2 separate regions of the Homo sapiens genome follow, and region 2 is linked to region 1. The links are contacts of gene promoters, found by promoter capture Hi-C in human tissues and cell types (Jung and others, 2019). All regions are on one chromosome and are shown on one strand. The core of a region is centred on a gene start or on the middle of the fragment in contact, and the rest is flanking DNA. Distances in the headings are between cores, read along the strand shown. Region 1 holds the start of CALML5 (calmodulin like 5). Region 2 overlaps NET1 (neuroepithelial cell transforming 1).

The links. Contacts are between HindIII fragments. The study calls those that stand out against the background at their distance.
Region 2: a contact is called between a fragment that was not itself captured here and the fragment with the promoter of CALML5 in region 1, in 9 of the 25 tissues and cell types used here (H1 embryonic stem cells, IMR-90 fibroblasts, bladder and 6 more).

Annotation. Positions count from the first base shown.
Region 1 is chr10:5,498,178-5,500,877 of GRCh38, forward strand. It overlaps CALML5 (calmodulin like 5), which reads right to left and starts at 1,393. Exons shown (of 1, transcript NM_017422.5): 1 at 520-1,393. The coding sequence starts at 1,261. The coding sequence ends at 821. The HindIII fragment of the contact is 7,245 bases long and covers 1-2,700 here.
Region 2 is chr10:5,447,523-5,450,222 of GRCh38, forward strand. The region is part of intron 3 of NET1 (neuroepithelial cell transforming 1); the gene reads left to right. Among named protein-coding and RNA genes, the nearest start is that of NET1, 36 kb to the left of the region's middle. The HindIII fragment of the contact is 5,840 bases long and covers 1-2,700 here.

The DNA.
Region 1 (2,700 bases), core at 143-2,642:
ACAGACACATAGACACAGAGACACACTCAGACACACACACAGATACACACATACACATGCAGATGCACACAAGGACACACAGACACACAAACATACAGAGACTTACACACAGATGCACACATACAGAGACACGCATACAGACACACAGACACACACACAGATGCACACACAGACGTACACGTATATTATTTGCAGCCGAAGAGAGGCAGGCTGCGTGCAGAGGCTGGCAGCTGGGCTCCGTCTGTCCATGCGAGGCGCCCGCTCCTGTTTGTGCGGGACACGTGCCCAGGTCCTCACCAGCAGCTCAGGCAGAACCTGGAGCCACAGACACCGCCCAGCACCATCCTCACACATCCTCTGCCCACCTGCCCTCTGCTCCGCGTCAGGGGAGGCAGGAGCTGCCCCTGGGGCCTGCTCCAGGCAGTTCTGCCACCGCAGGTGAGAGGGGTGGGCTGGAAGGAACCCTGGAAGCAGGTGGGGGCCCTCGGAGGCAGCCGCCCCACAAACACCAAGCACACATGGAACTCGGCAGTCCTTTATTTAGATCAATGCGGGGCTGAGGGGCCCTCATTCCACTGCAGGGCAAAGGGGGACCAGGCCCAAGGAGGCCTCCTTCTGCCCAAGGTCTGGAGGCAGAGAGGGGCTCGCAGGCGGCCCGAGGGCGCCGCATCCAGGCCCCGGAGCGCAAAGCCTTCCTCCCAGGGGGAGGCAGTTTCCCATCCACCGACCAGGTTTCCCCGGAGAGTCCCAGCACAAAAGCAGCAGCGGGCGGTGGCCCTGAAGGCTCAGAGCGCAGCCAGGGGGACACAGGCGGGGAGCCTCACTCCTGGGCGAGCATCCTCGCGAACTCCTCGTAGTTCACCCGCCCGTCCTGGTCCACGTCGGCCTCGCGGATCATGGCGTCCAGCTCCTCCTGCGGCAGCGGCTGCCCCAGCCCCGCCATGGCCCGCCTGAGCTCGTCCACGGTGATGTGGCCGTCGCCATCCTGGTCGAAGGCGCGGAAGGCGACCTGCAGGTCCTCCAGGCCGGCCCTGGCCTTCTTCGCCGCCGTCAGGAACTCCTGGAAGCTGATTTCGCCGTCGCCGTCGCTGTCAACCTCGGAGATGAGTTTCCTTAGCTGGGCCTCCGAGAGGTTCTTGCCCGTGGCCTTCAGCGCCGCGCCCAGCTCCTGGGCATTGATGGTGCCGTTTCCATCCGTGTCAACCGCGGAGAAAGCCTTTTTGTACTGGGCCTCCTCCTCAGGAGTCAGCTCACCGGCCATGCCTGCGTCTCCTGCACCTCGCGGAGCCTCCGAGCTGCTGCCCACCGGCCCTCAACCTGCTGCTCTCAGAGCTCGTGGTCCAGAGTGCAGGCAGCCGCAGGGATCCGGGCAGCGTCTGTCCCAGACAGTTCTGCCTTGGCATGGGAACCCCCTCCTTTTCTGCAATCGGAACAAAGGGAGGAGGGAGGCTCCCCACCCTCCAAATGCCCTGGGGTGAGAGCCTCCTCCCAGGGAGGGCCAGATCAGCTGCAGACAGGAAATGCAGGAATGGGAGTTGGGAGAGCTGTCAGGTGCCAGGTGGGAACTGCCATGGGGTCGGGGTATCGGATGGCTAGCCTGCCAACCCCGCCTGGCCTTGATAGCAACCACCTCCCTCCAGGAACATTCTGCCCAAGGGATAGTTTCCCCTGCAGCTGATTCTCGGAGATCCTGACCAAGCCAAGGGGTTCAAGACAGCTTCTGCAACTTCACAAAGACTGAGACTGGAGGGGGAGGTGGCTTGAAGAGGGCTCCCTCAAGGGCACAGCAGGCCCCAGTGTTTGGTGTTTCCGTACCCCTCTCTCCAGTGCTACTGCCTAGCTCTTGCCCTGAGGCTGGGGCTGGTGGAAGGGAAGTGGGTGGTAGTGTTGATTCTGCCAGGGCACAACTGTGGGTATCATGAGATTCCCAGGCCAGGGTCTAGAGACAGAGGATGGGGCTCACTGCCTATAACTTCAAGGAAGCAAGGGACCAGGGCTGCCTTCAGAGCCATAGCTGGTGCTGAGATGGTGTTTATCAAGTGAACATGTGACGTGCAGTTTCAGAGGAGAGGGAAAGACTTTTTGTCTCCCCAGAATACTCCCTTCTAGCTCAGGGATTCCTACAATTCAATTCCATCGCCAAGTCCAAGGTTCCCTGTGCAGACACCCTGGGAGCTCAGTGGCAGGCGTTCCATTCACAGGGCGTCAAACAGTTACAGCTGGAGTTTTGCTGCAGCGAGACACGGGGGACCTCAGTGCCCAGCATACCCCAAAGGTGCAGGCAGAGGTGCAGGAGGATGCAGAACAGGTGGCTGCCATCAAACTTGGCCCTCCTTGTGGTTTTACTAAGCATCAGCCCTAAGCACAGAGACCCATCTGGGAGCCTACTGGGGTCCTCAATCTGATCTGTTCTCTGGAAGGAAACCCCCAGGGCCACTTGCCTTGACCAACTTTTAGAGCAACAGCTAAGCTTTCGGGGGACCATCCCCAAGTCCTTCCACTGATGTGATCTACAGTTGTGAGGGGACATTTGCCTTGGAGTCCCCAAAATGCCTTTCCCAAGCAAGTCCCCTCTGATCTCCATAGATTCCCATTCTTCTCCCCAGCCCCTGCCCGTACACAGGGAACAAACTCCTTTATTCCCCTGGGAAAGTTTATACATTCCACCTCCCTCCTGTTCAGCCCATCAAATAGACCAAG
Region 2 (2,700 bases), core at 97-2,596, 51 kb before region 1:
ATTGTCACTTATATGCTAGGAATAGTGTTCCTGCATTCAGTTAACTGTGTATCTCTTGATTGTGGTAGTGGTTTCCGTCTCTATACACACGTCAAAACTTATCTAATTGTGCATTTTAAATATGTAAAGCTTACTGAATACCCCAGCAAAGTTGCTTGTCATGTGTACACATACACACACCTTTTGGTAGTTAAAATAGCTGCCGTCTTCAGGAAGTACACTTTTATTTGGTGTGGTTTGGCTTTGGTTTTTGTTCTTGGTTTTGGTCTTTGCCTATGTGTCGGTTTTCTCAAAATGTGTAAGTATTTCCTTTGAGTAGAGCAGTCATCCACAGTCACTAGTGTGAATCCTGCAGCTTATCATCTGTTGGGCCCATAGAAGCTGGCCTTTGTTTAGTATCAGCATGGGCTGTGTTTCTGCCTTACCTTTATTTCTAAGTTACAAGCACTAGGAATGTTGTCACGGTTTTAGATCTAGTGACACAGCTCTAAATAATTTGAGTATTTCTAGAAAAGGAATTCATCCCATGTGATCATAACTCGTTTTTATCTTTTTAAAAATAACTTTTATTTTCTTTTGATTTTAAAGTTTTGCTAAAGATTTTAAGAGAAGATTATTTAACTATTATAACCCAAAGGAATAGACCCAGGTGCATACTATTTTTTTTATTCAGTGTCTTGATATGATTGGTTATAGAAGAGACCCTCCTAAAATATGTTCTCTAACTGGCATCATTAGAAGAAAAAGCCTTTCTACAGAATGCTGACTTCTCAACAGGATTTTTCCATGTCGTTGCAGTTAGCTGTAAGGCATAACCTGAAAAATACTTTAACTTATTCTCAACAATTTTCTGTTTATAGATGTCGAGAAATTTTTAAGGCATAAAATCTAACTACAAGTGGATTACTAACATTAATTAATACCCTGATCTGTGGACAGATTGCCTATAATAATGTATGTGACTGCCTGGCTAACCTAGTCTGATTAAAAATTAACCTAAATTGACAACATAAACTTATGTTAGAGAGTGTTGGACTTTTTTTCCCTCCAAGTGAACTTTAGCCCTGGTGAAAGGTTCCCTGCAGCAGAAAATTCATTGAGCATGTAAAGCTTGTTGGCATTTTTTTGTTTATTCCCATGGATTTTTGGATTTTTTTTTTTTTTTTTGAGGAGAGTAAGGTTCCAGTATTCGTATCTGTTCTTTAAGCTTCTTGAATTTGCCATAACGTGTTTCCAGGACTCCAAAGTAAAAAATAAACAATCCTAGCAGTGGAACTATGGGTGCCTTCCATTTGGTGGTGGTGAGATAGAAAGCGCCTGTTCCACTCCCCCTTCATCACCTCCAAATGCTGTGTCTGGCCTATCTAAATATTGTATTAGGAATCTGTTTTGTGACTGCAAATATTTAGGTTCTTAATAGTCAAATCAAGATTATTAAGATAGTTCATGTGGACCTCTAAAGAAAACTACTTTTGGTTTCGGCTCACATGGGCCAATTTCTGACGTGTATTCCGAAAGACACAAATTTTTGTCCCAATCTTTTAGGTGGCCTGTGAATGCCTAAACCATGTCACTTTTCCACAGAAGTTTCATGTATGAGTCTGTTTTCAAATAGTATATGTATCCTGAAATTAGTAGCAGCATTATACCTTTACATTTCATAATCACACTTTTCGTTATTTTAGTCATTAAAATTGTTCATACTTTTAAAATATATATACTAAAAGTTTGTTTTGTATTTGCCAAACATTCTTCATGTATGTCCTTTGAGTGAGGCAGGAAAGTTATCCACCATCATCCCCAAAAGCATGTGAAAAAGTGCAAAGTGCCCTCCTCCTTTCTCTCCCTCTCCCAACCTGTATTTCCTGAGTAAGCATCATACTTCCCAAGACATCCTAGATTTGATAAACTCTGAAAAGCAGCATTTCCTTTGTGGAGAAGTGGGATTATAGTTGGATTTTTAAAGGACTGTGGAACATATTTAACCACCAAATACCACTTGGCATAATATGCTGCCACCCTAAAGAGACCACATCAACAAAACCCGTGTTCGTTTCAGAAGTATGCTTTAGATATATTTACATTCACTTATCTAAATCTAAATTCTGTAGTTTTAAAATATCACATAATTTTGAGTTACCAGGAAGTTAGTAGTTGTACAGTAACTGGTCCTATAAAGATAATAAATTTTTATCATTAATTTGATTTTATGTGATAAAATAGATATCAAAAATTTATTTCCTGCTAACAAAATTTTCCTTTCATATTCACTGGGAAAAGCACCTTTCCAAAGACCTTTTAAGTTGAAATTAAATATTATATTTTCTGGGAAGTCAAATTTGTTATGCATGAAACAAGGAAGAGGAGTTAACCTCTGTTCCCAAAAAGCGGAACAGAACTTTCTGACAACTGCTTTGTTCCAGTGAAATGTCGGCATTTCTTACTCTGTGAGGTAATTCTATCTTCAGTCCAACAGGAGACTCTTTGTGCTGTCTTTACTAAATGGAAAGGAATGCCTGTGCTGGCCCCTGCACACGCGTGTGTCAGTCAGTCAGCACAGATGTACGTGGGGGAGGCATCCACACATGTCCTCAGAAGCACAGCGTGTGCCATCTTATTACATATCGCGAAGGTTTCTTTTGCAGTTAGTTTATATTCAAAGTTTTACTTTGGAGTTGATTATTTGGTATGAGGGGTTGA